Regions from separate parts of the Homo sapiens genome. Here all the other regions are linked to region 1. The links are contacts of gene promoters, found by promoter capture Hi-C in blood cells and fetal thymus (Javierre and others, 2016). All regions are on one chromosome and are shown on one strand. The core of a region is centred on a gene start or on the middle of the fragment in contact, and the rest is flanking DNA. Distances in the headings are between cores, read along the strand shown. Region 1 holds the start of PHLDA1 (pleckstrin homology like domain family A member 1). Region 2 has its middle 12 kb from the start of BBS10. Region 3 has its middle 35 kb from the start of BBS10. Region 4 overlaps LOC105369844 (a long non-coding RNA gene). Region 5 overlaps OSBPL8 (oxysterol binding protein like 8).

The links. The method cuts DNA at HindIII sites, captures the fragments that hold promoters and counts their contacts. A CHiCAGO score of 5 or more calls a contact.
Region 2: a fragment that was not itself captured here is called in contact with the fragment with the promoter of PHLDA1 in region 1 in 3 of 17 cell types (M2 macrophages, M0 macrophages and endothelial precursors); the score reaches 10.8 in M2 macrophages.
Region 3: a fragment that was not itself captured here is called in contact with the fragment with the promoter of PHLDA1 in region 1 in 1 of 17 cell types (endothelial precursors); the score reaches 6.1 in endothelial precursors.
Region 4: a contact is called between a fragment that was not itself captured here and the fragment with the promoter of PHLDA1 in region 1, in 4 of 17 cell types (M0 macrophages, M2 macrophages, M1 macrophages and 1 more). The highest score is 12.6, in M0 macrophages.
Region 5: a contact is called between a fragment that was not itself captured here and the fragment with the promoter of PHLDA1 in region 1, in 2 of 17 cell types (M0 macrophages and M2 macrophages). The highest score is 5.7, in M0 macrophages.

What each region holds. Positions count from the first base shown.
Region 1 is chr12:76,030,526-76,035,138 of GRCh38, forward strand. It overlaps PHLDA1 (pleckstrin homology like domain family A member 1), which reads right to left and starts at 1,251. Exons shown (of 2, transcript NM_007350.3): 1 at 1-1,251. The coding sequence starts at 1,216. The coding sequence ends at 11. It overlaps PHLDA1-AS1 (PHLDA1 antisense RNA 1), which reads left to right. Exons shown (of 2, transcript NR_186034.1): 1 at 1-69; 2 at 386-853. PHLDA1-DT (PHLDA1 divergent transcript) reads left to right here and starts at 1,288. Exons shown (of 2, transcript NR_185978.1): 1 at 1,288-2,277; 2 at 2,739-3,864. RefSeq lists a silencer at 787-936 and an enhancer at 1,157-1,406. The HindIII fragment of the contact is 8,299 bases long and covers 1-4,613 here.
Region 2 is chr12:76,334,187-76,338,783 of GRCh38, forward strand. No RefSeq gene overlaps it. Among named protein-coding and RNA genes, the nearest start is that of BBS10, 12 kb to the right of the region's middle. The HindIII fragment of the contact is 1,359 bases long and covers 800-2,158 here.
Region 3 is chr12:76,311,544-76,315,660 of GRCh38, forward strand. No RefSeq gene overlaps it. Among named protein-coding and RNA genes, the nearest start is that of BBS10, 35 kb to the right of the region's middle. The HindIII fragment of the contact is 7,990 bases long and covers 1-4,117 here.
Region 4 is chr12:75,739,489-75,743,642 of GRCh38, forward strand. The region is part of intron 1 of LOC105369844 (a long non-coding RNA gene); the gene reads right to left. Among named protein-coding and RNA genes, the nearest start is that of KRR1, 230 kb to the left of the region's middle. The HindIII fragment of the contact is 2,472 bases long and covers 859-3,330 here.
Region 5 is chr12:76,356,307-76,360,564 of GRCh38, forward strand. OSBPL8 (oxysterol binding protein like 8) reads right to left here. Exons shown (of 24, transcript NM_020841.5): 22 at 2,400-2,505; 23 at 320-422. Among named protein-coding and RNA genes, the nearest start is that of BBS10, 10 kb to the left of the region's middle. The HindIII fragment of the contact is 7,968 bases long and covers 1-4,258 here.

The DNA of each region.
Region 1 (4,613 bases), core at 1-2,500:
GCTGCCCCTTTCAGGCAGAGTTGGAGGTGCTGCGGAGAAGCCGGTGCCCGTGCGGCTGCGAGTGCGGCTGTGGGTGTGGGTGCGGTATTTGGTGCGGATGCGGGTGCGGGTGAGGGTGTGGGTGCGAGTGAGGATGAGAGTGTGGATGTGGATGTGGATGCGGATACGGGTGGAGCTGCTGGGGCTGAGGCTTGGGTTGGGGCTGAGGCTGGGGTTGTGATTGGGGCTGGGGTTGCGGCTGAGGCTGAGGCTGGGGTTGGGGCTGGAGCTGCGGCTGCGGCTGCGGCTGCGAGGGGGGCTGCTGCTGGACCAGGTGCTGCTGCTTCTGCCGCGTGGATTTGACCGCCAGGATGGCCTGACGATTCTTGTACTGCACCATCTGCAGCGTGATCTCGGCGTTCCAGCCCTGGTCTTGCGGGCACCGAAAGTCGATCTCCTTGCCCTCTGCCATCACCACAGTGAAGTACATGTACTTGCCCTTGCGCTCCACACAGTCCACGGTCTTCATGTTGGAGAAGTGCAGTTCCTTGAGCTTGACCGGCGGCTCGAGGCTGGCGACAGCGGGGCCACTGGGTTGGGACGGCTCGGCCGGCCCCTGCCCGGGCTGTTGTTGCTGCTGCTGCTGCTGCTGTTGCTGCTGCTGCTGCTGGTGTTGCAGCTGCTTGGGCGGGATAAGCAGCAGCCCTTCCTCGGTGAGGATGCAACACTTTTTCTTCCAGAGCTGCAACAACCCGTCGCTGCGCTTCTCCAGCACGCCCTCCTTCAGCGCTTTGCAGCCGCTACTCTCCAGCATCCTCCCAGCATAAGAGGGGCCGCCGCTTGGCTCGGCCTCTCCGTTTCCAGCCGCGCGGGCCGGGGGCAGCAGCAGCAGCCTCGCGCCGTCCTCGCCCCAGCGGCTCCCACGGCCGCCTGCCCGGAGCGCGCAGAGGAGGCTAACACGCAGGAGGCAGAGCGGCGGCGGCGGCTCTGGGTCCCGGCAGAGGGACAGCCGCGTCCTGATGCGCCACAAGGTCCCGGAGCTCCGAGCTGCCGGGCCTCTGCCGTCCTCTTGCGAGCGCTCACTGAAGGGCACTGGCCGGGCCCCCTCGCGGCGCTTTTGAATGGGCCATCTTCCCCACCCCCGAGTGACACCCAGCGGAAAAGGCGGCTCCTGGCGCCCGCACCGCGGGGGAAAGCCCAGCTCCAAGAGGCGCTCGGCAGCCGGCGCACGCCTCATTAACTTGGGGCCTTTCCAAAGCCCGCTGCGTCCACGCCCTCCAGCGTCTCTTGCTCCGCCTCTCGCCGCCCACTTGCTTCCGCGCTCGTTCCCCTGGAAGGCGACCCGGACCCGAGCCCCGGAAACTCCTCTCCTCTACCCAGGGCGATCGCCCAAGGAGCCCTGGCTGCCTGACTACTGCCGACGCTCACAGGGCGCTGCGAGGCCATCCCCCGCGTCCCGCTTCTCCCCGGCCCGCGGGACTCTCTGCTAACAGCCTCAGAAAGTGAGGACGGGGGCGCGGAGGCGGGGGCAGCCTCCAGGCAGTGCTGCCTCTCGGTTCTTGGGAATTAGCCCGGGGGATTCGCGCTGGGCTCCGAGAGCCCGCAGAACCAGCGTCGTGTCCTGGGCGAGCTGGGAGGCCGGGGCCGAGTCCCGCGAGTCCCGCGAGTGTGCCTCCCCCGGACGCCTAGGTAAACAACTGAGCGCACAGAGGCCGAGAGGACATCGTGTCTTCCCACGCATATTCGCTCACGGTCACTAAGTAGCTCTTCTTGGAAAGAGGGCGATTGTTAAAGCAATAGTGCGACTGTCGGGCTTGCCACGGGTGGAGAGAGGCGGACCCACGTCAGGTCGCATCTCGCCTGCTTTTCTCGACCCCGACCGCAGGCGCTAACCCGTCTTCGGCTTTCTTCTTGACCCGTACGGTTTGCAACGTCTCTTAAAACAGTAACTCAACTCTCTACAAACCGGGGTAATATCCGGTGCTGAGATCCCACACTGCAAGGCGCAGTTCCAAACGTCTGGTCGGCCTCGCAGGTCCCTCTTTCCAAGGCCTAGCCAGATCTTGGTTTTGGAATCTCATTTATCTGTGACCTGGGGAATGCAATACCCCCAGCTCCCTCCTACTCCTACATTTAAACAATGCCTATAGAAGCCGCTTCCTGGGAAGTAAGGCATAACCGAGACCTAGCCTCCCGGTAGGGAAGTTCATCCGTTTAGTAAACAGCCCCAACTACGTGCGGACCCTCACGGGGATACGAAGAATTCAACCAGGGCTGGACAAGTCAGAGTGGGCCAAGGTAAGAGTTACGGCTGCTACTGTGCCCACGTTGGAACAGATAGATTAGTTCATCTGCTAGTTGTGTGGCAAGAGCAAAGAATTCAAGAGGGGAAGAGAAAGTGAGAGGAGCTTAGAGAGCTAAGCAAGAATCGAATCCTTTGTGTGTCATGGTAAGAAATTCGAACTTAATACCAAGGTAGTCAGAACAAAGGACAACTTTTATACACGAGGGCGTCCTGAATATTCATCTAAGAAACAATGTCTGATCAAACGGGACAATCCAGCCAGCAATCCTGAGTCCCACCGGATTATGCTTGGCCAGCTTTCTAGCCTTCACATTGTTAATTTATTAGCAATCTTTTCAGGAGAAAGGCAATTATTAAAATTATGTGGACTTCTAGTAAAATTATCTCGAAGATTTACAATTATGTATACCAATAACAAAAAAACTACATGTTTTCTGCTCCCCTGCCTTTGTAGGACAAGTGAGCATTCCAGAGAATTTCTACATGACCAGCTGTTCATTCTTTTAAGAGGATGACATTCTTCAGCTCATCTGGAAAGGATACTTCCTTTAAGTCTGTTATTCACAGTCTCCAAGGGCAGGTGTAGTTGGGAAAGACATTTCATATGGAAAAACAAACTTGATAGGGTAAAAAAAAAAAAAATGAGATGTAATCTGGAGGCCCAAGTCATTTTCTTAGGAGAAACTCAAATGTGTTTGGTGTTATCTAACCTTCTGCAGTTTATCAGTCTGAAACAAATGCATTCTATTCTCATTTGAAAATGTCTGAACAGCCACCAATTTTCAAAATCACCCATTTAACTAGAGACTTTAAAGCCCAGAATTTGCAGTTACGTATTTCAGAATGATTTAGTAATTTTGTGAGCAGCTCAGAGGTTAAGTCTACAATGTCTGACTACGGTGCATTATTGAAAATATCAGTAGTGTAAGGATCCCGTAGATTGGTGATAACTTTGCTCTTGTTATTTCAACAGTTACCACCAACAGTTGGTGACTTAACAAATTAAGAGCATAGTTGCCATATGCTCATATTTGGCAAATATGTCAAAATGGCCATATTTGCCAATTTTTAAGACAATAAATTCACAGAAAATGCATTACAGAAAATAACTTAAAAAAAAAAAAAACAACTTTTGGGCCAGGCATGGTGGTTCACACCTGTAATACCAACACTCTAGGAGGCTGAGGTGAGAGGATCCCTTGAGCCCAGGAGTTTGAAACCAACCTGGGCTACATGGCAAGGCCTCCCTCTACAAATGTAAAAAAAAAATTAGCCAGGTGTGGTGGCATGCGCCATGTAGCCCCAGCTACTTGGGAGGCTGAGGTGGAGGACTGTTTGAGCCCAGAAGTTCAAGGTTGCAGGAGCTAGGATCGCACCACTATACAAGCCTGGGTGGCAGCAAGACCCTGTTTAAAAAAAAAAAAAAATTCAGCTGTATATGCAATGAAAACCTACAAGTCACTGAAAAGTTACTGAAGTTTAGAAAACTAGCCAACAAAATCATTGCTTTGGTAAACAAATTTGAAATGGCTAATTGAAAGTACATTTTACAGCTGGCAATATAAAGTTATCTATCAGCAGCACTGGACAGTTCATTTTCTTCTCTTGGATAAAGTTTATCACTTGGCTTCAAGGACATCACTCAGTTTTCCTTTACATCTCCAGTGTCTCCTCTATGAGGTGCTTTCTCTTCTCTCCAAACTTTTAATGTTGGAATGCCCCAAGTCTTTGTCTTTGGCTCTCTTCTTTATCTACACTCATTCCCTTGTTGATATCCAGTCTCATCACTTTTAATAACATCTATATGCCAGAGTCCCAAATTTATACCCCCAACTTATATCCAACTGCTTACTGCCGAAGAATAAAACACTGAAGTTAAAAAATAATAAACATACCAGGCAAGGGAACACTTACTAGTAAAGCCATTTACTGAGTAGTTCACTAAAGGTTTAAGTCTGAGGGGATTTTAGGTCATAGGAAAAAAAAAAAAAAACTGAAAAAGAACACTCGGATGGTCAGAGGAGTCTGTAATTCATACACAATAGGTTTTAACAAATTCCTACATGGAACTGCTCCAGTTTATAGGTTAGAATTAACTATAGTGAAAAACAGCCTTCAGTTTTTATCAATTCCAGGCCAGTGAGTGCTACTATAAGTTGAAAATTCTCCATTTACACTTCTCTACAGTACGGCTTGTGTAGTCTAAGAAATCAAACATGTGAATGAGCTCCCAAACTATTTTCCTCACTCTAACCTACTCTACCTGCAGCCCCCTTTCTCAGTTGACAGCAATCCTCTGTACAGATGCTCAAACTAAAAACCGTAGATC
Region 2 (4,597 bases), core at 229-2,728, 300 kb after region 1:
TCCCCTCACCTAGAGTGTGAGCTGACTCTGTGACTCACTTCTCATGAATTGAATGCAGCAGGAGTGATGTTAAAAGTCACTGTTCTTATCCGGGCTCGGTGGCTCACGCCTGCAATCCTAGCACTTTGGGAGGCCAAGGCGGGCGCATCACCTGAGGTCAGGAGTTCGAGGCCACCCTGGCCAACATGGTAAAATCCTGTCTCTAATAAAAATACAAAAATTAGCTGGGACTGGTGGCACGTGCCTGTAATCACAGCTGTTCCAGGAGGCCGAGGCGGGAGAATTGTTTGAACCCAGGAGGTGGAGGTTGCAGTGAGCCGATATTGTGCCACTGCACTCCAGCCTGGGCAATAGAACTATACTCCATCTCAAAAAATAAAAAAATAAAAAAATGCACTGTTCTCAGCCAGGCACGGTGGCTCACGCCTGTAATCCCAGCACTTTGGGAGGCTGAGGCGGGCGGATCGACTGAGGCCAGGAGTTTAAGACCACCCTGGCCAACGTGGTGAAACCTCGTCTCTACTACAAATACAAAAATTAGCTGCGCGTGGTCGCGGGTGCCTGTAATCCCAGTTACTCGGGAGGCTGAGGCAGGAGAATCGCTTGAACCTGGGAGGCGGAGGTTGCAGTGAGCCGAGATTGCCCCACTGCACTTCAGCCTAGGCGACAGTAAACTCTGTCTAAAAAGCAAAACAAAACAGGCATTGTTCTCTCTTGGGTCAGTCACTGTGGGGAAAGCCGGCTGTCATTTGAACACATCAAGCAGTCCTATGGAGACGCCCACAGAGCGAGGGACTGAAGCTTCCTGCCAGCAGCTATGTGAATGAGTGAAGTGGATCCTTCAGCCTCTCAGGTCTTCAGTATTTTGACTGCAACCTTATGAAAATCCCTGAGCCAGAACCACCCGGTGAAGTTATTTTCAGATTCCTGACCCATAGAAACTATGTGAGAGAATAAACGTTTGCTATTTCAAGCCACTAAATTTGGGGATAATTTGTTACACAATATAGAACTGAAAGAACCAATGAGGGAAGTATGGCAAATTTGAGAAACTTGTTTAAGGTCCCACAACTAGTAAATGGCAAATCTAGGATGCAAACACCAAGTCAGTGTGTCTCTAAAGCCCATGTTCTCTGTACCATGCCATACTTATGTTTTACTTAGTATGGAAGTACTAAGTATGGCATACTAAAGATGCTTAGTACGGCAAATGTAAAAGTCATTTCACTGTGCTATTATAAAATCTTTGCAGATTGGTTCATGTTACAGTGCCAGGAGGTTGCTTTCTGTATTTCCAAAGAAGCTGCTGACTGGAGGAATTTCTGAGAGAATGGTGAGTAAACCGGCAATTCTAATGAAGCATTTTAATTGTGCTTTACTATTTAAAGCATTTCCATGAAGATGTTTTGTTGGAAGAATAGATCAAATCAAGTTTGTTATGAGTTAGAAAAGAGATAACTTGAAAGTGACTTTTTTCTTCAGTTCATCATTATGGCATTGTAAGATAGTTTTCATAGTGTGAATTGATTATACTAGATTTCTCAGTTTTACATATATTTAATATTTATATGCATTAATATTATATATTATTTTAAAATATATTTAAATACTTATATTTTGCATTTATGCAGAAATTGCCAAAATTCAGTATTTTTCTTAGATTTCTTAGTTACCATTTCAAAGGCCCAAACTTTGGAGTAGTCAAAGATTTCTTAAACAAAACACAAGACACACCAAACTTAAAACTTGTATTCTCTACCACTACTCTGATCATACATGCCCTTTTTTGGACATATTCAATCATAATGGAACCTGGCAGCTTTTAACTAATGAGTGTTTTGATGTAGCTTCCAGTCATACCTAATGAGCCATTGTAAGCTATTTATATGTTTGGTGCTTAGTGGTTTTCTAATCTACCCTAATTAGACCTAATATCTTCATCCCATCACCCTGGAATAACTCATTTCCACTTTCTTCCCCTCTGTTTACCTAATCAAATTCATAAAATATTCCTTCCATCTAATCTTTCCATCTTTTTACTTTCTTTATTAAAGCATTTTCACTGGTTTCCTTTCTTACAAGTATTAGACTCTTTGAGATAACTTAAGTAGAGGAATTTCATGGCACACAAAAGTAGGAATATTGCTGGTCCTTGACAAGCTTTGGGATTGCAACCTGAAGAGATTGTCTCTGATTTCATCTTTCTATGTGTGCAGTAGGTTTAATCAAGGAGTTTTTATTCAGTGGCACAGAACATGGAACACTGGTTCTTTCAATAATTTGGCTTTTTTAGAGTCTCAACTCATCCTGGAGCTGGAAAAAAATTAATATTATGCCAAATAACAGCATTTGGGTCTCTTTGGCTAAATTAAGCCCATGCCAGTGACTGCTTTTAAAACTGGATTGTTGGCTGGGTGCAGCTCACACTTGAGGCCAGGAGTTTGAGGCCAGGATAGAAAACATGGTGAGACCCTCATCTCTACAAAGAATTAAAACATTAGCTAGGCATGGTGGTGTGCACTGAGGTGGAGGATCACTTGAGCCCAGAAGTTCAGCCTGCAGTTCAGCCGTGTTTGCGCTCCACTGCAATACAGGCTAGGTGACAGAGTCAGACCCTGTCTCAAAATTAAGGCTGGTGATATCTGTTGATTATGGGATTTTAGAGGAACCAATAAATAACTCTACTCCCATTGGGAGGCAGACAGGGGAGTCAAGCTGAGGGAGTTGGAAAAACTACAGTAACTCTGGATAATGCTTATGCTGAATAGCAGGCCTTAGAGTGCTAAATCGAACAGGCTGGTCCATGCTCCATCTCTAAGTCAGACCAAATGCAGTCATGGTCCTCAACAGCACTGACTCCTGTTCCAGGCCTATGACAGTAAAGCTGACCATGCTTCCCTTCTTTAACTAAGAGAAAGAAAGTGAATGTTGAGCCAAGCATGTGCTGTTCCTCCACCCAACCCAACAAGTAAGTCCCTTTGCCTTCCCTGGGGGGCAGCGAGTGTGACAAGAAGCAAAGAGGAATCTCAACCAAGTAGGACAAAATCAATCCAAATAAACATATATGAATATGTACGCACATGCTTGTATATGATTTTATAAGCAGCATAGTGAAATGTATAGAACAACACCAGGTAGGTATTTCACAAGATTACTTGGGTTAGGGGGTGGTGGCTGGGGCCCAACGTGAAGGGAGGAGCAGAAAAGAGTGGGGAGATAAGCAGAAAGGCAAAAGAAAACAAAGCACTGAAAAGTAGTATGTGTAGCATGATCACATAAATGTATGTATTATACACATACACATGTGTGTGCACACACACGCACACCATATTAAGGAATGATACTCCAAATCCTTAAACCAGTATGGAATGTCTAATACTTTATCAGAGTGGACACCAAAGAACTGAGGCAGAATCCCTGGAAGACCCTCTATTGAGCCAGGCATTAACCTGAATTGTGGGGTAGCCCAAAGGATATGGGGAGAGGAGCTGTAAGGCCAGGATGGCAGGAAAAGATGTGGGAAAGGATGGTGGCACTTGGGAGGCTCAAGACAGTAGCTATTTACAAAACCAATTCGGAAGTATGTCAATGTTTTCACAACATGTGCCGCTTTATCTGTGCATTCCAGCTGAATAACATACTTGCTGACTTACTCATAAGATCAAATTCTTAAAATATAACAGGAAAGTTTTCTTCTTGTACTAATATAATTATTTTAGTGTGGGACGACAGGCAGAACTCACATGAAGAAAACCTATAAATCCTGGGTGTTGGAGGAGCCACTTCAAAGACTCACTCAAATGACTAGAAAGTTGGTGCTTGGATATTGGTTGGAAATGTTGCCAGGACTGTGAATTGGGACCTTGGTTCCTCTCTACATGGGCCTCTCCTTGGGCTGCTTGAGCTTGCTTACAGCATGGTGGTTGGGTTCCAAAAGTAAGAGGTCAAGAGATGCAGGAGGTTCAATATTCCCATTCATAATCTAAATTACACAGTGTCACTTTCATTATAGTCTAATTGGGCAAGACTGTCTCAAGGGCTCGTTCAGGTTTAACAGAAGGGGACATAGACTCCACTGCTCTATGGGAGGAGTGTCTAGGTCATACTGTTAAGAAGACCGTGGTGGCAAGGGAAATATGGAGGAAAATAGTCTGCCAAAACACATTTCTGCGGCAACTGCAACATCCATAGTCCATGCTGGCATGGATCTCAAAGGTTTCTACTATTCCCATGATGCCACACTTAGGGCACAGACTAGCTAGTGTAACAAAGACTGGAGGAAGGGGGGTAAAGTTAAAAAAGTATAGTCAACCAAAGGAAGAAATAAAGCTAATATTAAGCTCTTAATAATGTGGCAGGCATTGTGCGAGGCACTTTGTATTAGAGTTCTCTAAGAGGGACAGAACTAATAGGAGATTATATATATATATATATATATATATATATATATATATATGAATAGATATAAATATAAAGGGGAGTTTTATATATATACATACACACATATATATATATAAAGGGGAATTTATTAAATATTGACTTACATGATCACAAGGTCCCACAATAGGCTGTCTGCAAGCTGAGGAGCAAGAAGAGC
Region 3 (4,117 bases), core at 246-2,745, 280 kb after region 1:
GCACTTTGGGAGGCCGAGGCAGGCAGATCACGAGGTCAGGAGATCGAGACCATCCTGGCTAACATGGTGAAACCCCGTCTCTACTAAAAATAGAAAAAATTAGCTGGGCGTGGTGGTGGGCACCTGTAGTCCCAGCTACTTGGGAGGCTGAGGCAAGAGAATGGCGTGAACCCGGGAGGGAGAACTTGCTGTGAGCCGAGATTGTGCCACTGCACTCCAGCCTGGGCGACAGAACGAGACTCCGTCTCAAAAAAAATAAATAAGTAAAAATAAATAAATAATAAGTGAAACAAGATTTTTGGCATTGTGTAATTGCATGGGTTTTTTAAAAATTACTCTTCAACATCCTGATTCTCCAGCAACTTATTCATTCCCAGAAGTGAGGGTGGCATTGAATGAGAGAAGAATCCTGTGTTTCTGACTCATCATTTACCCAGAAGAGAGTGAGCTGACAGAGCTATGTGAAAGGACAAGATAATGTTTACCCTTATTCCTGGACACCGAGGCTCTAAATTCGAATTTCTTTCAGTATACAGTTATAACATTACGTTTGCACAGCCACATGTGAAGATGTTGTGGTGCTCCTTTTTTTAATCTTACATTTTTAACTAATTTACTTACATAACCAAAAATGAGAAGAACAGGGAAGAATCCTGGTCTTAGAGAAGCAAGATGGAAAATTAAACGCGAGGGGATCTCTCTGTCTCTCCCTCTACCACTTATTTCTTAACCTGTTTGCACGTTAATTTCCTTCTCCCAGACTGGCTTCTCCACAAGCTGTAGACCTGCTGCTAGCATCTCAACATCTCTTAACTTATATCCTCTGTGGAAAAAACCAAGAACACCATTAGCATAAGCCTTTCAGTAATGCCGGCGTGAAAAGGAGCGTTCTAACTTGGGAAGGAGGGTGGAATTTTTTATAGGGCTTCAGCAGGCAGGGTCAGCTCAAGTTCACTTTGTTTTAAGAACAAAGATGGTTCCTAGAAAAGGAAGGAATTTTCTTTAGCAATTAGCGGTCACTGTTTGGACAACTTGGATTTTACCAAGAGGAGTGGGAGGAACAGTCCGGTCATGTGTGAGCGGCGGGGGTGGGGAGGAACAGCTACAGTGGACAAGGACATGGAGGCCTACAGTGGAAAATTTTCATTTCTTCAGAGTCTCTTACATCTTACAGTCTCAGGACCTTTGAGAGCCTTCTCCCCACTTCAGTCAATCTGACTTGCTTATCCCTGGACCACTCACTGTGGTCAAGGAGGCAGAGTCAAAGAAGAGACTGTTTCTGGTCAGACCTGAAAGCTAGAACAGGGGGAGGAGCCACTCTTTAAAAAGAGGGAGCAGCGGGCTGGGCGCGGTGGCTCACGCCTGTAATCCCAGCACTTTGGGAGGCCGAGGCGGGAGGATCACAAGGTCAGGAGATCGAGACCATTCTGGCTAACACGGTGAAACCCCGTCTCTACTAAAAATACAAAAAATTCTCCGGGCGTGGTGGCAGGCCCTGTAGTCCCAGCTACTCCGGAGGCTGAGGCAGGAGAATGGTGTGAACCCGGGAGGCGGAGCTTGCAGTGAGCCGAGATCGCGCCACTGCACTCCAGCCTGGGCGACAGAGTGAGACTCAGTCTCAAAAAAAAAAAAAAAGGGAGCAGCCCAGACTTGGCTGATGAGGGCATCGCAGTAACAGGGCAGCCCTCGCCTTCCTCCCCATTTGTGTCTACGAAACCCTTCTTTTCCTCCTTCCAGGTGAAAGGCTCAGTGCTGCCTGTCGGGAGCACTGCTTCGAGGAGACCGATCCAGAGAACTTTCAGCCTAGGGAGTACGGCGCGCAAACCCAGCTGAGGTGAAAGTCTCATTGGGGAGCAGCTCCCAGCACAAACTGCTGAAAGGCTGGCCGCAGCCCTGCTGCCCAGATTTCTTCTTCAGCACTCTCTAACTCCCTAGAGCTTTTAAAATGTCCCCTGTGGTCACTCTGTATACCAGGGAAGACAAACGGGTTTGGCTTCATGCCTGCATTGGCAGTGCTGGGTGCCTCTTCATCCTTCTCTCTCTCCTCTTTTTGGCAGAAAAACCCTTTTCAAATATCCAAGCCCCTTCTTCTCTATAAAAAATAAGACAGATGTGAGCTATGAACATCGTTACTGGTGAAAAAATTAAGATTTAGGAAAGGAAATATCTGTCCTCATCATTTTGCCAGAAGAGCAGAGTAGTTACAGTCATGGACTTTAACTCAAAATCCACAGAATTTGAGTCCTGGCTTCCCACTTACTGATTCCGTGACCTTGGGCAAATACTTAACCTCAGTAAGCCCCAGCTTCTTATTTAGGAAATGGGGAATAACATGTACCTCAAAATTTAGGGGAATAATGCATGTAAAGAATATGCCATTGTGTCTGACATATATTAAAATCCAAAATTACAGTAATTTTTGTGATTATAAAAATGATGGTGATAACATGAAAGTAACTAATTAAATAAAATTATGTATATTAAAAATATAAAAATATGATTTTACCACCATCACCACTCCCAATATTAGCATTTTTAAAATAGAATTTTACAATTAAGACCTCAGATGATCTCACGTGGTGGTCAAGCTGTCACTTCTCTAAAGTGGCCTCAATTGCTCCAGGGCCAGAAAGTAGGAAAATTGGAACACAGGAGCGCTGGGCATGACGTCTCATGCCTGTGATCCCAGCAATTTGGGAGGCTGAGGTGGGCAGATCACTTGAGGTCAGGAGTTCAAGACCAGCCTGGCTAACACGGTGAAACCCTGTCTCTACTAAAAATACAAAAATTAGCCAGGGCGTGGTGGCAGGTGCCTGTAATCCCAGCTACTTGGGAGGCTGAAGAAGGAGAATTGCTTGAACCTGGGAGGCAGAGGTTGCAGTGAGCTGAGATGGCACCACTGCACTCCAGCCTGGGCAACAGAGTGAGACTCTGTCAAAAAGAAAGATGAAAGAAAGAAGAAAGAAAAGAAAAGAAAGAAAGAAAGAAGAAGGAAAGAACAGAAAGAAAGAAAGAAAAAGAAAAGAAAGAAAGAAAAAGAAAGAAAGAAAAAAGAAAGAAAGAAAGAAAGAAAGAAAGAAAGAAAGAAAGAAAGAAAGAAAGAAAGAAAGAAAGGGAGGGAGGGAGGGAGGGAGGGAGGGAGGGAAGGAGGGAGGGAGGAAGGAAGGAAGGAAGAAAGAGAGAAAAAAAGAAACACAGGAAACCTCTGCCCTGAAGAATGGGGTACGTAGACCAGGGACCAGGTCCCCTCATTTCAGTGTTACCTCCAGGCTCTGTGTGTGTGTGTGTGTGTGTGTGTGTGTGTGTGTGTGTGTGTGTGTGAAGGCAGGGGTGGGGTGAGCATGTGTGCACGTGGGGATGTGTATGTGTGTGCATCCATGTGCATCTTTGTGCCTGGATCTGTGTATGTTCATGGGATGTGATGATTAAACAGTATGTGACATCAGAAATTATCAACATTGACACTGATTACAGATGCTGGAAAATTAGCAATGTAGAAAGGGGAAATGAAATTTGGCTTAGCTGTGAAAAAGTAATACTAATTACAGTCATTTACATGAGCCCCTCACCATTTATGCTTAATTACCATGCAGCACAATCATAATCATGTGTATCATTAAATACGTGCCCAGTTAACTTTCATGTACGTTGTCTTGATTAGAATGATGGGCTCTGCTCTACTTAGACGTTCTGCTCAGACTTTATAGTACGTGGAGTGTGCAGCTTGGACACTCATTCACGGAGACATTGCTTAAAGTCCCTGCTACTTCAGGGGCTATCAAGAGGGACCTGACTCCCCAGATTCCAGAACTGCTTGCCAGGCTGTATTGACAGGTACTGTAGTTTGAGAAAGCCCTCTCAACCGCATCCCAATGCAGGGAAGAAGAAAGTATTGGACTCTCTCCCTTTTCTTCCTCTCCCATCCCCACAGGATATCAGAGGGCCCAGGGAGCTCACCTCCCACAGCTAAGGGGACATACATAGCTAAAAGGACAGGACACATCTGTACACAATCACTGTCCCCTCCCCCAACCCCCCACACACATCATAAGATAGTATCAGAGAGATACAGAGAGAAATAGAAAGACATGCAAGCCAAGAGACATGGAGAGAGCAA
Region 4 (4,154 bases), core at 845-3,344, 290 kb before region 1:
CATAGTAAAATGGAAAGGATAATACTTACCTTATAGAATTCTTATGGAGAATTAAAATAAGATGTGAATATAAGGCACCTAGCACAGAACCTAACAGACAGTAAGTGCTCAAGATTTATTTCTTTTCCCTCTGACACTAGATCCCAGACACTGCAGAAATAAATATATCTGAGATTTACAACTGCCATAAAAGAGATAATAAACAGGAAGGAACTTAACATATTAAGCCCCTACCTTGTTTCAATCCATGTCTTAGGCATTTGCATGTGATGGTAGCCTTGAATTTAAACTGAACTCATCTTAATTTAGTCATTCATTCATTCCATTTGTTCACTCATCAATAAATATTTATTCAGCACCTACTATGTGCCAGTCATTTGCCTAGGCAGTGGTGACACAGCAATGAATAAGTGGACCAGGTCCTACCTTGAGCTTACATTCTAGAGATCCATAACCTTCCTGCCATACCTTGCTGCACAGATAAAGAACTTTGAAAATTAAAAACAAAAAAAAATATTATTTTCAACTTGGAAATCAGAGAATGCTTCATGGAGAAGCAGAAGTTTGGCCTGAACTTCAGAGAACTTTAGGGCTCAGAGTAGGCTGGGAGAGTGGGTGGATGGAGCAGCTTGCATCATGGCCCAGAGGCCGGGAAGAGCAGGACCTGAGAGGAAGCAGTGAGTTTGATTTTGTTGTCAGGTGGGGTGGGTAAAAGTGAGTAATAGGAAATCTTTTGGAAATGTATATGGAAATCAGATGGTGGTGCACACTGAAAAGCAGGCTGAGGAGTGCAGACTTATGTAGACCACAGAGAGTCATTTAAGTTTATTGAACAAGGTAGTAATAGGATCAGGGATAAGCTTCAGAAATATTAATTGGGCAATAATGTGTAAAATGGATTAAAAGAGGGAAGGACTAGAGACAAAGGAAGAATCAGGAGGTTGTTAATTAAACACTGCTGGTATGTTTGGGGTTTTTCTATGGCCAGTGACAGAAAAGATCACCAGCAAATTCAGGTAAATTTTTCTTTCATCAGAATTTGCAAAGGTAAAAGTGGGCTAAAAACAAAAACAAAAAACAGGAAACAAAACCTGCTTCATCTAAGAATGCATTATATAATATTACATAAATGACAAATTCCTTTGATATATGACAGATATTTAGTGTCTTCAGCAGAACAACTAAATTAAACATAGGAGTGGAGAAAACCTGAGACAACAGGCCTTATGGTATAATATTTAAATTAAGTTGATTCTCAGGCCAGAGCTTTAAAACATTTGCAAGCAAATTCTGATTCCTTGATGGTTTTTTTTTTGGTTTTTTGTTTTTTGTTTTTTGTTTTTTGAGATGGAGTCTTGCTCTTATCGCCCAGGCTGGAGTGCAATGGTGCAATCTTGGCTCAATGCAACCTCTGCCTCCTGGGTTCAAGCAATTCTCCTGTCTCAGCCTCCCGAATAGCTGGGATTACAGGCATATGTCACCATGCCCGACTACTTTTGTATTTTTAGTAGAGATGGGGTTTCTCCATGTTTGTCAGACTGGTCTTGAACTCCTGACCTCAGGTGATCTGCCCGGCTCAGCTTCCCAAAGTGCTGGGATTATAGGCGTGAGCCACCACGCGCAGCCCGATGGTTTTTTGTAACAAAATTTCTATTGTAAAATAAGAATAAAGTTAAACATTTATATAAGAACCCTTGCAAGGTGGCAAATGCCCTCAGTATACTTTTGGTATAGCTTATGCTCTTCCTGGTTGGTATAGGTTGAGAATCTCTAGTCCAGAAATCCAAAATCTAAATGATTCCAAAACTTGAAACTTTTTGAGCACTGATATCACCCTGCAAGTGGGAAATCCCACACCTGACCTCATGTGATGGAATGAAGACAAAATGCAGTCAAAACTGATTCACGAGCACAAAATTACTAAAAACATTAAATAAAATTACCTTCAGGCTATGTGTATAAGGTGAATGTGAAACAGAAATGAATTTTGTGTTTAGATTTGGGTCCCATCTCGAAGATATCTCATTGTATATATTCAAATATTCCAAAATCTATCCCCCCTCCCCGCCCACCAAAACAAATCATGAAATCCTAAACACTTCTGCTCCCAAGCATTTCAGATAAGGGACACCCAACGCGTAGTGCTGTTGTTCTGGGTCAAATTCTCAGTTGATGGAAAACAACCCATTCCCAGACCAGCAGCTTCGGGCAGCATTCTGCCTTCAAAACATTACCTGCCTTTACTACTTTCTCTTGGTTTCTGAAGAATCAAACTCAAACTACCCCAAATTGAGGTAATTCTCTTCTCTCTCCCATCCCCTTCCAACCCAACTTGCTCTTCCCCTTGCCTTTTCATTTAAACAACATTGATTAAGCACCTACTCTGTACCCACTTCCGTATGGATCATCGGGGTCTTGCTAAGTGCACCATTGGCCAACAGAATCTTGTAGTCAACCTCAATTTCTCCTCCCTCTGTCTCTCACATCCACTCAGCAACCAAGACCTGCTGAGTCCACCTCCCAGAAGTCTTTCATACTCATCTGTCCCTCTCCAACCTCACTGACCCTGACCTAGGATAGGCCCTAATTAGTGCAATCCTGAACAATTACAAAGCCTTCTAACTCCTCTTTACCACTCATCCCCATCCCCATCCGGTCCCTCTACAATCCAAGCTGTCTTGCACGGATGGATGCCAATGTGCAATCTTTGAAAACCTTGCTATTCAAGGTGTGGTCCGCAAACCACAGCACCAGTATGGTCCTGCAGCTGGTTAAAAATGCAGACTCTCACAACAGAATCTGCATTTTTAACAGAACCCAGATGATCCATATGCACATTTAAATTTGAGATGCACTGGCTAAAAGCACAAATCCAATCCCATCACTCTCTAGTTGACATTCTAGTGCAAAGACCAACAAATTATAGCACGCAGTCCTAATCTGGCCCACTATCTATTTTTGAGCAGTCTGTGAAGTAAAAAAAAATGCTTGGAAATAAATCAAAAGAAAAATACTATTTTATGACACATGAAATTTATTGAAATTCAAATTTCAGTGCTTAGTTTGATTGGAACACAACTATGCCCATTCATTTATATGAGAGGAGTCTTTTAAAAGTTTATGGAAAATGCGTATTATGAAAAAAACTATGCATGGAGTTCAAATTTTTTTGCACCAAAATAAACTCATGCCAACTGGTTACAACATATCTGAAAAGGATCTAGTTTGAGGCATAAACAAGGATACGATGTTGGTTTGAAAAGAGCCTCTATAAGAACAATATGAATTCTGCTAAAATTGAAGCAAAAACAAACATCAGATTTATGGTGAAGCTTGGGTGGAAGAATGATGAAATCACTGATGCTTTATGAAAAGTTTACAGGACAATGCCCCAAAGAAATCAGCAGTTTACAAATGGATCACTCATCCTAAGAAGGGATGAGATGATGTTGAAGATGAAGCCAGCAGCAGCAGATCATCTACATCAATTTGTGAGGAAAAAATTTATCTTTTTTCCTGCCTTAATTGAAGAGAACTGATGATTAACAGTAGAAACAACAGCCAATATCACAGACATCTCCATTGGTTCTGTTTACACAATTCTGACTGAAAAATTAAAGTTGAACAAACTTTCCACTCAATGGCTGCCAAAATGATTGCACCCAGATCAGCTGTAGACAAAAGCAGGGGTTTCAATGGAAATTTTAAGCATGCAGTATCAAGATCCTGAAGCATTTCCTCTAAGAATTGTAACAGGAGATGAAACAAGGCTCTACCAGTACAATCTTGAAGACAAAGCACACTCAAAGCAATGGCCACCAAGAGGTGGAGGGGGGCCAGTCAAAGCAAAAGTGAATCGGCCAAGAACAAAGGTCATGGCAACAATTTTGGGGGGATGCTCAAGGCATTTTTCTTGTTGACTTTCTGAAGTGTGAAAGAACAATAATATTTTCTTATTTTTATTTTTTTTGAGATGGAGTTTCACTCTTGTTGCCCAGGCTGGAGTGCAATGGGGCAATCTCAGCTCACCAGAACTTCCACCTCCCAGGTTCAAGCAATTTTCCTGTCTCAGCCTCCCAAGTAGCTGGGATTACAGGCACGTGCCACCATGCCCAGCTAATTTTGTATTTTTAGTAGAGACGGGTTTTCTCCAT
Region 5 (4,258 bases), core at 661-3,160, 330 kb after region 1:
GCCTTTGTTAACTGACTTTCTCAGAAACAATCCCACCTCCACATGCAACCCAGCTACATTCCTAGCATGCTATAGGAGTAAAATAAAGTGATTCCAATTCTACCCTTACAGAGAAAAAACAACCTCTCCTTCCTTCCCAAGTATTTTAGTGCTGGAGGAATTTCGTAAGTGTCAAACATCAGGTGATAGAGGCTAAACATTGTATTTTAGCTTAGCTAAATGTTATAAAAATATGAAGTCTGCATATGATTTCCCATATAACAGGATTCTTAACTACTCCTTGGTCTCAAATGAATAGTCAGTGTCATTATATTATTACCTTTTAATTTCTTCCTGTGTTTGTTTTATAGATTCGATGGAACTCTGAATGTCTCCCAGTTCTATTCCTTTCTTTCTTCTTGTACTTGGTTTTACTGATTGAGCTAAAAAGACATTTAGAATGAAGTTGAAACTATAAAAATAATCTACAGTTCAATTTAATGTGTCTCATGTAATAAAAATTTTCCTGGGCATTTGTTTTTGTAGCCTAGAGATTAGCATAGTAATATGAATACTCTGCACTTTTGAAGTTTCAAACACATCATTGCAATACTAGAACACTACAAATATATTTAAAGTACTACACATTAGTTGAATTTTGGATGGCACCAGTTTTTTTAACTAATTAAAACAGAAATAATTCATTAGAAATACATATTAACTTGAGGAAGGTATTACTCTCTTCTGTTCCTTGCCCATTTGCCTACCTCTGAAGTCAGCTTCTTGAGCCCTTTTTTCCAATTTTTTATTGTGAGTGTTTAGTTACCTAAACTTTAAATCCCTTTCGACACCACTTCTGCAAATTTTTACTGCCAATCAGCAAGCTGTACATGTTTTTCCAAATTCCCTACATATGCATTCCTTCCTTTCCATTTTTGTTCAGATCCTACTTAACCTCTCTGCAAGTGTCAGCTTTCTCATTTTAAAAATAGGGATAATAATACCAGACTTCACAGGGTTGTTGTAAGGTGTATTTAACATACAGTCTGGCACAAATTAATTACTCAATAAATGTCTGCTGATACATTATAGTAATATAGTAAAGTGGATGACAGGGTGAATTAAGGAGCCAAAAAATCTGCATATATAACATACATATACCTACTTATGGGGTATGTGACCTTAGGCAGGTTAACTTGTGTCTCAGTTTCTTTTCTCGTAAAATGGGAATAACAACAATACAACCAATACTCTCTTCTAACACACTGGTATGCCACATGACTCCTGCTTTTAAACCTTTATTCGGTTCATTCCTCTAACTACTCTAGTATGTTACCCCTACCCCACTCTCCAAGCCTAGATTGCTATAATCCATTAGAAATCTTAATAATTCATCAGGATTCTAAGAACTTTCCCTCAAACTGAATTGAGCTCCCTCTCCTTTAAACTCTTTATCACTTGTCATCTAATTTCTTAGTAATCTACCATTTATTCACTTCTAGTGTTATCTTTATAGGTTAAAATGAGCTCCCTAGTTCAGTGTAAACTCAGTAGAGATTATGGCTTAAAGTTTTTTTTTTTTTGTCATGTCACAAACATCACTTTAATCCTTTCATGATTATATCTCAATGTAGTTCAAGATACTTTACACATTATCTGACTCGAATAAGAATGGAGTACAATTTAAGCTAGCAGTTGCTAAGTTTTATATTTTTATTGTCTGTCACTTCCAAACACTACAGTAATTTATTCTGGAAATGAAAAACATTTTTGAAGCATGGAACTGAGTTCAAAGCTCAAAAAATGCTTCTGAATTCAATCTAGGGAACCATCAGCAATTTTTCAGAGGTTAACAAGGCATAAGAGGTAGCTACTACTAGAGTGTGGTTCTTTTTTTTTTTTTTTTTTTTTTGAGACAGGGTCTCACTTTGTCACCCAGGCTGGAGTGCAGTAGTGTGATCTCGGTTCAGTGCATCTTCCATCTCCGGGGTTCAAGCAATTCTCGTGTCTCAGCCTCCCAAGTAGCTGGGATTACAGGTGTGCACCACCGCACCTGGCTAATTTTTTCATATTTTTAGTAGAGACGGGGTTTCCCCATGTTAGCCAGGCTGGTCTTGAACTTTTGGCCTCAAGTGATCTGCCCACCTCGGCGTCCCAAAGTACTGGGATTACAGGCATGAGCCACCACACCCTGCCTAGAGTGTGGTTTTTATTTAGATGTCTCCCCTTTTTCATTTTCTGTTTCTTTACCTTGCGTCCTGGTCTCACAACTTATCTATGATCTAGAATTGCTTTTGTATCTCAACCCTGCCCCGACCAAAACTCACATAACTTGAGTTAATATGAAAAACCATATTCATATCAAATTGTGTAGTAATTAAAAAGTTAGACTCTCATTAGTCTGCAATAAATATTTTTACCTTCACTTCCAGAGGAGTCTTGAATGTCAGGTTCTGGGGAGGAATAGCCTTTTGCTACTTTCTTCTGTTGCCTGGTTGGCTTATGTTTCATTTTGGGGACGCTAACCTAAAGAAAAAAATAACTATTTTGTGAATTTGCACTGTATTTTGGACTAAAGACCAACTGTGTACAATTGTCAAAATTATCTGCACATAGGCATGATATTCAGAAATAAAGACAATGATGAAATAGTCTAATTCAAATTTAACAAATGTGATGCACTTATGCAATCAAATGATCTTATTTTAATAGGAAGTACTTTGGCACAAATGTCAAAAAGTAAAATACACAATGAAGAGTATACCCAGTCTCTCTCCCACTAAATAGGTACCCATCACTATTAGTTTATATCCAGGGATATTATTATGTATACATAAACAAATATGAATATAGATCCCCCTACCTCTGACTGCACCAGCTATTATTATTCTCTAGTAGAATGTTAAATAATAGAATGTTAAATAATAGTGTGTATAAATCATATTTATTTTGTTCCCAATGTTAGAAACATTCCCACTGAACAATGCTGGGTTTCCAGTAAAACGGTTTATTTACTTTTAATCACATCTGGGTAGTACAGAAAGTATCTTATAATAAATAAAAATGATACCATTATTTTGTAGAGCATTATTTAAACTTACTGAAAGGATTGAAGTGGATGCACAAGATTCAAAAGTATATGAAACCATCAACTATGACTAAATTTTCCTTAGAATAATAACTTTGGACTCTATCCTATTAATAGATTTGTAATTTTGGTGTTCAGTATTAAACTTAAAAACCTAAATGCAAGAGAAGAAACTAGAATCAGAAAGACAAGATGTATTAGTCAGTTTTTATGCTCCTGATAAAGACATTCCCGAGACTGGGATGAAAAGGAGGTTTAATTTGACTTATGGTTCCACATGTCTGCAGAGGTCGCAAAATCATGGCAGATGGCAAAAGGCACTTCTTACATTGTGGCAGCAAGAGAGAATGAGGAAGATGCAAAAGTGGAAACCTCTGATAAAACCATCAGATCTCGTGAGACTTATTCACTACCACGAGAACAATATGGGGGAAACTGCCCCTATGATTCAAATGATCTCCCACTAAGTCCCTCCCACAACACGTGGTAATTATGGGAGTACAATTCAAGGTGAGATCCCACCAAGTCCCTCCCACAACACGTGGGAATTATGGGAGTACAATTCAAGATGAGATTTGGGTGAGGACACAGAGCCAAATCGTATCATTCTACCCTGGCCCCTCCAAATCTCATGTCCTCACATCTCAAAACCAATCATGCCTTCCCAACAGTCCCCCAAAGTCTTAATTCATTTCAGCATTAACCCAAAAGTCCACAGTCCAAAATCTCATCTGAGACAAGGCAAGTCCCTTCTGCCTATGAGCCTGTAAAATGAAAAGCAAGCTAGTTACTTTCTAGATACAATGGGGGTACAGGCATTGGGTAAATACAACTGTTCCAAATGGGAGAAATTTGGAAACAAAGGGGTCATAGGGCCCATGCAAGTCTGAGATCCAGTGGGGCAGTCAAATTTTAAAGCTCCAAAATTTTAAAGCTCCAAAATGATCTCCTTTGACTCCACGTTTCATATCCAGATCATGCTGATGCAAGAGGTAGGTTCCCATAGTCTTGGGCAGCTCCACCCTTGTGGCTCTGCAGGGTATCCCCTCCTGGCTGCTTTCATGGGCTGGCGCTGAGTGTCTGCGGCTTTTCCAGGTGCACAGTGCAAGCTGTTGGTGGATCTACCATTCTGGGGTCTAGAGGACGGTGGCCCGCTTCTCACAGCTCCACTAGGCAGTGCCCCAGTAGGGA